Regions from separate parts of the Homo sapiens genome. Here all the other regions are linked to region 2. The links are contacts of gene promoters, found by promoter capture Hi-C in human tissues and cell types (Jung and others, 2019). All regions are on one chromosome and are shown on one strand. The core of a region is centred on a gene start or on the middle of the fragment in contact, and the rest is flanking DNA. Distances in the headings are between cores, read along the strand shown.

Region 1 (3,303 bases), core at 359-2,858, 35 kb before region 2:
ATGCTGGATGCTGGGACACAGACAAAAGCAAGTAGTTAGACAACAAAACAACTGCATTGCAATGAGTGCTATGAAGGAAAGACTGAGAGGGTTATGCTATAAAATAATAGAGCAGGGGCATTGACTTTGGACAGTTCTGGGAAGAGCCAAAGCTTAGGAAGACTGCAGATGAAAGCAGTGGAGATGCCCTGGGAATGTCTACTGAAGCCTGAGTCAGAACAAACGTAGCATGTTTGAGAAAATGAGAAAAGCCCAGTGGGAGCGAGGCCTGGTGGGAAGGAAGGAAAGCGGGTGAGGAAAGGTAGGGGAGGGCCAGATCAGAGTGTCTTTTCGGGCATGTTATGCATTTTGGTTTGTTTTTTTTCTGTGAGCAGTGGGCAGCCATTGGAGGGTTGTAAGGTACTCAACCTCTCTGTGCCTCAGTTTCCTAATCTGTAAAATGATATTATACTAGTACGTTTTTCATTGACTTGTTGTAAAGGTAAATGAGTTAATACATGTCAAGTGATTAAAATGGCTCATAAAAAGAACTCAATAGTTGTTAGCTATATTCATTAGGAAATGGGTAGTGGGGGCAAAAATATAGACGAGGAGAATAGTTAGGAGCTATAACATCATCTAGATGGCCCGTGTCTTTTTGGGCCAAATCTGGCCCGCCATTTGATTTTGAATGATTTTTACATTTTTTAAATGGCTGCGGAAAAATCAAAAGACAACGTCTTGTAATACACGAAAATTATATGAAATTCAAATTTCAGTGTCTGCAAATAAAGTTTTATTGACACACAGCCACACCTATTCAATTACATATTGTCTATGGCTGCTTTCATACTCCAATGTCAAATGTGAGTCCAGACAAACACCATGTGGCCTGCAAAGCCAAAATACTTACTGTGTGGCTTTTTACAGGAGACATTTGCTGACCCCTGGTCTGGGGGATGGCTTGAGTGAGGGTGGTAGCAATGGCAATGTAGCAGTCAAGATATCATTCAAAGTTAAATGTGGGACTTGTGCTGGGTTGGATTGGGGGGTGTGAATGAAAGGAGTACCTGCATGGATGGTGGTTAATTGGAGAAGAATATTTTTTAGGGGGCTGGGAATGGCTTATTCATAATTCTATTTTGGACTTGGTTTAGACTTGTCAAGCTCAATAGGCAGTTAGATATGCAAGACTGGAGCTTAGAGGAGATGTTTAGGTTGCAGACATAAATCTGGGAGTCATTGTATAAATTTGGGAGTTAAATCCGTAGGAATCAATGGGCTCAGCTATGGAAAGTGTTTAAGTAGAGTATAGACCATGAGGAACCCCAGCACTTGGGAGCTGGGGAAAGGAAAATGAATTTACCAGAGAAACAGAGAGATGGTGAGTGAGGTAGAAGGAAAACTTAGAGCTATGGACCAGCAAAAGCCAAGAGAGGGGAGTGTTTTAAGAAGCGTGAGTGGGCACTGTGTCAAATTCTGGTGTGAGTGGGAACATGATTAAATAGAGATGTATCTGCTGGATTTGGTGAAATCTGATTATTTCAGTTAGCCCCATCCAAGAGAGATATAATGTGAGCCACATATGTATTTTAAATTTTTTGGTAGCTATATTAAAAAAGTGAAAAACAGATGAAACTAATATGAATAATATATTTTATGTATAAATTATTAGTGAGATATTTTGCATTCTTTTTTTCATGTGAAATCATCAAAATCTGGTGTGTGCTTTACATTTAAAGCACATGTCAGTTTGGTCTTGCCACATTTCAAGTGCCCACTAGCCCACATGTGGCTTGTGGCTACCATACTGGGCAGTGCACAATCCAGATATCTCACCTTCTGGGCCTCAACCTCTTCCCTGGTAAAATGGGTGACATAAATTCTGATCTCCTGAAGGTTGTTATAAGCAAGAAACAATATAATTTCATGAAGCCATGAAGCTCTTGTTGCTCTTACCATTTTTTTATTTTTCTAAAATGTAGATGCTTTATTTTTTTCAGATGCAAAATGGGCATTATAAGCATTTCAACAATACAGAAAATGTGAAGATCAGCTAAATCTCAGTCTCTAATTCTGATATACATCTTTCCTGACTTTTAAACAATGCCTATCTGAGAACTGTTCTACATTGTGATCACGCTGTTATCGGACTGCATACATTTGTCAAGACTTGTTAAACTATACCCTTAAAATGGGTGCATTTTATTGCATGTTAATTATACCTCAATGAAACATATGCCAATTGGCTTTTAGAACCCTATTAAAAGAAGATTTTTTTAACAGAAATGTGATCACGTCAACATATTATTTGTAATCCGCTTTTTAATTTTGTATTGAATTTCAAAAGTTATGCATACTCATAAAAATTCAAACAATGCTGAATTGAAAAAGGAAAAGTTAGTGGCTCTTTATCCACTTTATGTCCCACTGCCCAGAGATCATCACCATGAGCAGTTTGGTGTATGACATTCCAGATACGCACACATATCTTCATACATACACACATACAAATATGTATACATATAACAAAAGACTGTAAAATATAATAATATGATCATGGACAACTTGCCATTTGGACTTACTCCATTCTTTTTTTTTAATTTTATTTTCTTGGACTCAGGTCACAAATTTATTCTTTTAAAACACTGCATAGTACTCTACAGAATGGGAGCACTTTGATTTATTTAACCAATTCCTTATTGGATTGTGTTCAATGCTTCAAATCAAAACTTTCAAAATAAAATTTACAGGGTGTCTTGGTTGTGTTTCTATGTCAATACATAGATTGACGTTATCTTTTATCTTTTTTTAAACAGATGCAGTGTACTTCATAATATGAATGGAACACAATTTCTTTAAACATGTGTCTATCAAAAATCTTCCAATTTTTTTTTACTCTTATCAGTAATGAACATCGTTGCACATAATCTGTGTACAAAAGTACGACTGTTTCTCAAGGTTAAATTCCTAGAAGGAGGATAACTGGATCAAAGGGTATTTACATGTAAAATTGGAAACATGTTGCCAAATGCCCCAGGAGGTTAAACTGGTTTATTCTTTCACTAAGGGCATATGTTCCCAACACCCTCACCAGTTTTACTCTCCTTTTCAAGTCTTGCCTGTTGGCAAATGAATGGTATACCATTAGTGTTTTGATCTGCATTTCTCTGATGATAGTGATATTGACCATCTCTTCCAACTTCTTGTCTGTTTGAATACTCTCCTTTCCAAATGTGTGAGTGGAAAGAGCTTTGGTTAGCAGTGAGCTCTAGGCTTTGTTGAACTTGGAGCCAGAACAATCTGAGTTTCAGGCCAGGGTCT
Region 2 (3,239 bases), core at 398-2,897:
GGCTACACTTTGTAGCTCACTGCTATTTGCATTCATCCTGCTTTGTTCATGAGCTAAGCAGCGTGGCCCCTGTGGGTACACAAGTTTGCTGCTGCTAGTCTGCCTCATGTACTTAGTTCTTTGCAGACCTGGTAGCTGGCCTAACATCCTGCAGGGGTGCACTGTCTGGGAAGTGTGTTAGGCCCTCTGAGGGTTCTGGCCACAGGTATTCCATTCAATCGCTGTGTAACTATAAGAACGTCACTTCCCCTATCCAGGCCGCAGGACATTCCCCTTCAGGCCTGAGAGTGACCCAGGCAACATGTCCTTATAAGGGAAAGTGGCTGTGCCCCTACTGGTCCATCCCACAGAGGGGGAGCCTGGGGGGCTCAGGGGAGGCCTGCTGGGAGTGATGGGGTACAGAGATGCTGGAGAGGTGTCTGCATTCCAGGTAGGAACTGGCTTTCAGGACAGCCTGAAAGCAGACCTGCAGGGCACTAACTGCAGAGGGTGTGCGTGGGGAATTTACATTATTGAGTACCTACTATTTGCAGTACCAGCTGTACTATGAAGTAATCACGAGGTCTGTGAATTATCCCCTCCACAGCAGCAGAGCCCAGTGGCTAACTGGTATACCCTGAAGCCAGCCCGCTGGTTAGAAATCACGGCAGTACCATTAATAGCTGAGTGGCGTGGTTGGCGACGTAGCTCTCTGAGTCTCAGTTTTCTGAGCTGAAGAATGAAAATAACATCTTTACCATAAAGGGATGTTCAAAGTAAGTGTTCAGTGAATTTGAAGAGAAATTGTTTAGAAGAATGCCTGATACATAGTAAGTGCTCAATAAATGTTAACTGTTATTTTCATTAACTATTTTTTTTTGAGACGGAGTCTCGCTCTGTGCCCAGGCTGGAGTGCAGTGACGTGATCTCAGCTCACTGCAACCTTGTCTCCTAGGTTCAAGTGATTCTCCTGCCTCAGCCTCCCGAGTATCTGGAACTACAGGTATGCACCACCACAAACCAGATAATTTTTGTATTTTTAGTAGAGACAGGGTTTCACCATGTTGGTCAGGCTGATCTCAAACTCCTGACCTCAGGTGATCCACCCCCCTCAGCCTCCCAGAGTGCTGGGATTACAGATGTGAGCCACTGTGCCCAGCCTCATTAAACTTTTTTTAAGGGGAGAAAACCAGCAGAGAGATATGAGGTCACCTGCCCAAGGTCTCATAGCTAGGGAGGGACAGAGCTGAGATTTGAAGCGAGGTACAAGTCAGGCTAAAGACAGGAAGGGGGCTGGGGAAGGAGACCAGAGCCACTGCTCCCAGTACTTGGCAGGGGTCTGATTATCACCTGTGAGTCCCAAGAGCAGGGATCAGGCTCCCCTTGGGGCACACAACTATGGAGTGGGAGGGAAAGGGAAGCTGTATGGTTTCTCTGTGCCTCAGTTTCCTTCTCTGTAAAATGGGGCTAATTCTACCTTCCTGCTACCAAGATTAGAGACATCGCTTGGAAAAGGCTGTCTTTTCCTCTTCCCACACCTTCCACCCGCTCTTGCTTGTGGGCAGAGGATGAGGCAGCTTGCCCAACCCTCTGGGAGGTGGGCCCCGAAAAGGGCGGGACAAGGCAGCCAGGAGAGCTTCATTAAAGAGTGGAAAAGCAGAAGTGGCAGGGATTCCCAAGTCCCAGCGATTCCCCCACTTCCTCTCCACCTGCCACAGCTGCCAGCGACCGCCCGCCTGAAACCACTGCCATTTGGACAGCATGCCAGGCCACCCAGGAGCAGCTGAGCAACTTGTCAAGACCGGGTAGGTCTGGGGACTTTGGACACTGAGGGCTACAGGTGAGAAAACAGTCAGCCATTGGGGGTGATGGATATGAACCCAAATCTTCAGCTCTGCCATTCCTTGGCTATGTGACCTTAGGCAAATCCTCAGTTCTCTGTGAGCCTCAGTTCCCCATCTGTGAAATGGAAGTAATAATGACATCTACAAGACTGTTGCCAGAATTGAATGAGAAAACACATGCTTAGTACTTGGCACCTGCTTGGCTCAGAGGAAGCACTCACTAAACAGCAGCTAGTTTCCTTGCCATTTTCAATACCCCGTGCAGGAATTGTCATCCAATATGACTTAGGACTGGCTTTCAATCCTTAAAATTGTTTTTATTATTAGCTATTATTCCAAAAGCTACTGTGTTCCAAATATTAATTATATAGTAGAAGGGGGTGTTTAGTCCCAAATTCAAATGCCTTCGGGAGCTGGGAAGGGGTTGCACCTGTGGAAGGCCACCTGGGTGTGCAGACGGACCCGTTCATTGATCAGCAGGATGCAGTCTGCAGGGCTGCTCCCCTGTCAAAGGTGGGTAGTGGATACTCAGCTCCAGCTACCTGTTGCAAAGGTGGGAGCTCTAACCCAGATCTTCTTATCTCTCAAGAAAAGCTGGAAACCCAGATTTTAATGTGAAACTTCCTTATTTCCAAATGGGGGCAGCTTACACACACACACACACACACAGAGTGGGCCACAATAAGGCACATTTGCATATGATTCAGCCTTTAGGGCTTCAAGGTTGTGACCTTCACTCCAGCCCCACAGGCCTCACTGCATCTCAGCTTCCCACTGTTCTGGTTCTCCCAACTCCCTATTTCCCGATGGTCAGAGCACAGGACCTTTGCACACGCTGTTCCTTCTGTCAGGGATGTCCAACTCCCTTCTTCACCCACAAACTGACACTTGTCCTTCCACCCCCAGCTGGAATGTCACCTCTTCCAGGGAGCCTTCCTGACTCCCAGGTAAAACTGGGTCACTCTCCATCTATCCCACCCCAGTCCAGGCCCAGGCATACTATGCTCAGAATTCTTTGTTAATGAACTTAAACTCTAATGGTCTATTTAAGTCTCCTCAATTAGACTGTGAACTCCTTTAGTGGGACCAGGACTTAATTCATCTTTGTGTCCACAGGGGTCAGCACAGAGCCTGGGCACAGAGGAGACTCGAGTGAAACATTTACATCGTTGACATAAGTATCATCAGAGTAACAAGTGGTGCAGTTTTATAGGATCCCTCTTCTGTGCCAGACCCTGTGTAAACTTCTTTACATGGATTATTTCATTTTATTGTCCCAGAAGCCCTGTGACAAAGGTTTCTGTATTAGTCAGGACTCATTGAGTTGCAAGTGACAGATTGATCTTACACTGCCTGTAGAAAAACAGACATCTCCTAGTGTGTGGTCCGGCATAGATTTCGGCTTCAGGCATTTCT
Region 3 (3,379 bases), core at 709-3,208, 57 kb after region 2:
CTGCAATGTAGCCATAGAAGCATCATGCAGATCTTCCTCCAGACCTTCCCAGGGGTATCTGTGGTCATTTACCACCGTGGCCATGCATGAGGGAGAAGGACATACCCAGACCTCCATGGGGATTTGGATATTGGCTTTGATTATATGAATTCTTGCTGTTCCCAAGCACTACAGTGGCCTATGATCAGAGTGGAGACTTATGAAGGTCGGGAGATAGATGAGTCTGGGCCTGAATCCAACTCCCAGAGGGTTTGCTTCTGCCAGTGGAAACACACGTGCATCCCATGGTTATTTCCTCAGTCCCAGAATGCACAGTGGAGACAGACTTAGTGGCAGAATCCTCATATTGGTTCCCTGACAATGGAGAAAATACTCTTATACCCCATGATAATTTAAAAGTTATCCAGGCCAGATATGTTTTAGGTCAAAAGGTGGGGGATAAGAGATAGGTCTCTGCATCAAATCACTGGCTAGTATTGTTTATATGAGGTACATGGATCATATTCTGTGCTGACTCCAATTTTGCATTCTATGGAAGTTATCTTCAGAGATAATTTAATCTTTAAAAGGGTTAAAGCATTTATTCAACAGCCAGTTGTCTTGTGTCCCCTCTTATGAAGTCAGTGATTGAACTTAGGACCCACCCTAATCTAGTATGATTTGATCTTGATTACATCTTCAAAATGATCCTAGTTTTAAATAGGGTCACATTAATGAGCACCGGCAGTTAAAACCTCAACATACCTTTAGGGAGGGATTCCATTCAATCCACAAACGCTCTGTTAGATTTATATCTCCTCAAATATGTGAGAATGAAAATATAAGGAATTATTAAATGCAAAAGATGCATCATTTACATTGGTGTGCAGATGATATTTTGAGCCTAAATTGAAGTATTTAACTTCTCTCTCCATCTGTTATTTTTGCTTAAACAATAGAACTGTTATGTGATTTTAATATTAAAACCCCAATGAAAATATAAAACTTTCTGCTGAAACTTTCCAATGAGAATGTTATGAATAGCCTAACATTTACATGATGGCTATTCTTTTATCTTTTTTACAAAACTGGAGACATTGGGTTTAGGAATTAGTGACAGCGCCTAGGAAATATGGCAGAGATACAAAGAAGAAAGTGTTAGATGTCAATGAAAAATTTTTGAGTTTAGTGATGGTGAATTTGGGATATGAGGCTTTTCAGAACAAGTTGTTCTGGTGTGTCCTAGGAAACTTTTCTCACTCTAGACTTTAGAGTTAGCAGTTTGACCTGATAGGAGCTGTGTTGGAAAGTCTTCGTGTATTTGAAACATATGAAATGGCTCCTGTTTAACTTTAACCCAGGATATTAAGGACCAAAATTAGGGATGACAGGTCCCATGTATAATTTTTGTCTTTATCCCAATAGCCACTCCCATTTTTATAATATTCATAACAATATTTTCTTTGTACTGAGCTAAATTATTTCAGTTGCATTTTTGGCTTATATTTAACTTGAGATCTATAAAACTGATGTGTCTGTTATTTGTAAAAAGTGAGCTATATATACACATACACCTTTCCTTAGAGATATAAACGTACTGATGCCTCAACACACAAGTAATGAGGCAGATGGAAAGGAAGCACACCTGGGGATTATACAACACTTGAGCTCTGTGGCAGCTCCTGTCATATCTGAGAAAGCAAAGAAAGGTGAGAGCATGAAGAAACTGAATAGTGTCTATGGATTGAGGCCAATCCTAACTATGCCCATCCCACTTGGCTAAACACAGGCAAGTTGCCACCGACGTTTATGAGAACAAATTTGGGAAAGTAATTCGACTTCTATACAAGGCTCAAATGTATTCAGTATTACATGCTAGTGTTAGCATATACTAGAAAGCTTAGCATTTAAGACATACAACAAGAAATCAATTTCAAATAACATAATATTCCCAGTAATAGGTTCTCCATATTCTGAATCTAAAGCCTAGAATTGTTGCAATTTTTCCATTTCTTCTTGATTCTCTAGAAACATATAAGAATGGTGCAAACTATTCAGGGAGGCTGGGTGTCTTAGTTATATCCACTTATTTTTTGGCTTTGAGACAGTCTCGCTCTGTCACCCAGGCTGGAGTGCAGTGGCATGATCTCTGCTCACTGCAACCTCTGCCTCCTGGGTTCAAGTGATTCTCATGCCTCAGCCTCCCTAGTAGCTGGGATTAAAGGCGCACGCCACCATACCATGCTAATTTTTGTGTTTTTACTACAAAGGCACCACGCTCCTGCTTTCCCTTCAGGGCTAGGGATGGTAAATCCCTTGTTGGTTTCCCACAACCCTTTCCACACTTTTGTAAAGAGTCTCTTCATTCAATTTTCTTTCACTTATTTCAAATGAGCTATTTCTTAATGGGACAGACAGGGTTTCACCATGTTGGCCAGGCTGGTCTCAAACTCTTGACCTCAAGTGATCCACCCACCTCAGTCTCCCAAAGTGCTGGGATTACAGGCGTGAGCCACTGCGCCCGACCATTTAGACAAGACAGCAGAAACCATCTTGACCACAGACCCAAGACCTTTGGATTTCTCATGTTACCCCTCCTAACTCTTTACCCTTTAGTTCAGATCCATGATCAGCTTTTTGCTTTTCACTGTCTACTAGCAAAAGTTCTCCAAAACTTCTAATTCACCCAGAAGAGATGGCTTTTGTTTTCCTTACTTACGCTTAAATTAGGGTTGCATCATCTAGCCTATAAAAGTTTGCATCTTTAGATAGCTGCCTCTATTTGTTAATCCAGTGAAAGTAGATTATGGACAAACAGCAAAATGAATGTTCACTGTAGCCTTCTAGCTGCCTCTTAGCTTATCACTGCTTACCACAGGAAATGCCTTATCCAATTTCAAATTTAGTTGAATACATTTAACAGTTTTTTTTTTTTTTTCTAAAGACAGAGTCTCACCCTGTCACCCAGGCTGGAGTGCAATGGCACGATCTCAGCTCACTGCAACTTCCGCCTCTGGGGTTCAAGTGATTCTCCTGTCTCAGCCTCCCAAGTAGCTGGGATTACAGGTGTGCACCACCACGCCCTGCTAATTTTTTTTTTTCTATGTTTAGGAGAGATGGGGTTTCACTATGTTGACCAGGCTGGTCTGGAACTCTTGACCTCATGAACCACCTGCCTTGGCCAAAGATTCAAGTCAGTGCAATAAAAAAAGTACATTTCTGATCACATCTCCATTTCTTCAACATTTACATATTTATATTTCCAAGATACTCCATACAGCATGAATCCACGAAGAATTAGGCTTCGACTAAGATTCTTTCTACATTGATCTCGAGTTTAGCAAAGGGTAAGTCATCTCTAAATATCCTTCTTCACCTTCCTCTTTTTTTAGGGTTTCTT

The links. Contacts are between HindIII fragments. The study calls those that stand out against the background at their distance.
Region 1: a fragment that was not itself captured here is called in contact with the fragment with the promoter of OCSTAMP in region 2 in 2 of the 25 tissues and cell types used here (lymphoblastoid cells and thymus).
Region 3: a contact is called between a fragment that was not itself captured here and the fragment with the promoter of OCSTAMP in region 2, in 2 of the 25 tissues and cell types used here (dorsolateral prefrontal cortex and thymus).

What each region holds. Positions count from the first base shown.
Region 1 is chr20:46,584,423-46,587,725 of GRCh38, reverse strand. All of the region lies in intron 8 of SLC13A3 (solute carrier family 13 member 3), which reads left to right. Among named protein-coding and RNA genes, the nearest start is that of OCSTAMP, 35 kb to the right of the region's middle. RefSeq lists an enhancer at 3,118-3,303. The HindIII fragment of the contact is 6,883 bases long and covers 1-3,303 here.
Region 2 is chr20:46,549,062-46,552,300 of GRCh38, reverse strand. It overlaps OCSTAMP (osteoclast stimulatory transmembrane protein), which reads left to right and starts at 1,647. Exons shown (of 3, transcript NM_080721.3): 1 at 1,647-1,784. The coding sequence starts at 1,741. The HindIII fragment of the contact is 9,290 bases long and covers 1-3,239 here.
Region 3 is chr20:46,492,629-46,496,007 of GRCh38, reverse strand. It overlaps a transcript of ZNF334 not described here. Among named protein-coding and RNA genes, the nearest start is that of ZNF334, 19 kb to the left of the region's middle. The HindIII fragment of the contact is 6,670 bases long and covers 1-3,379 here.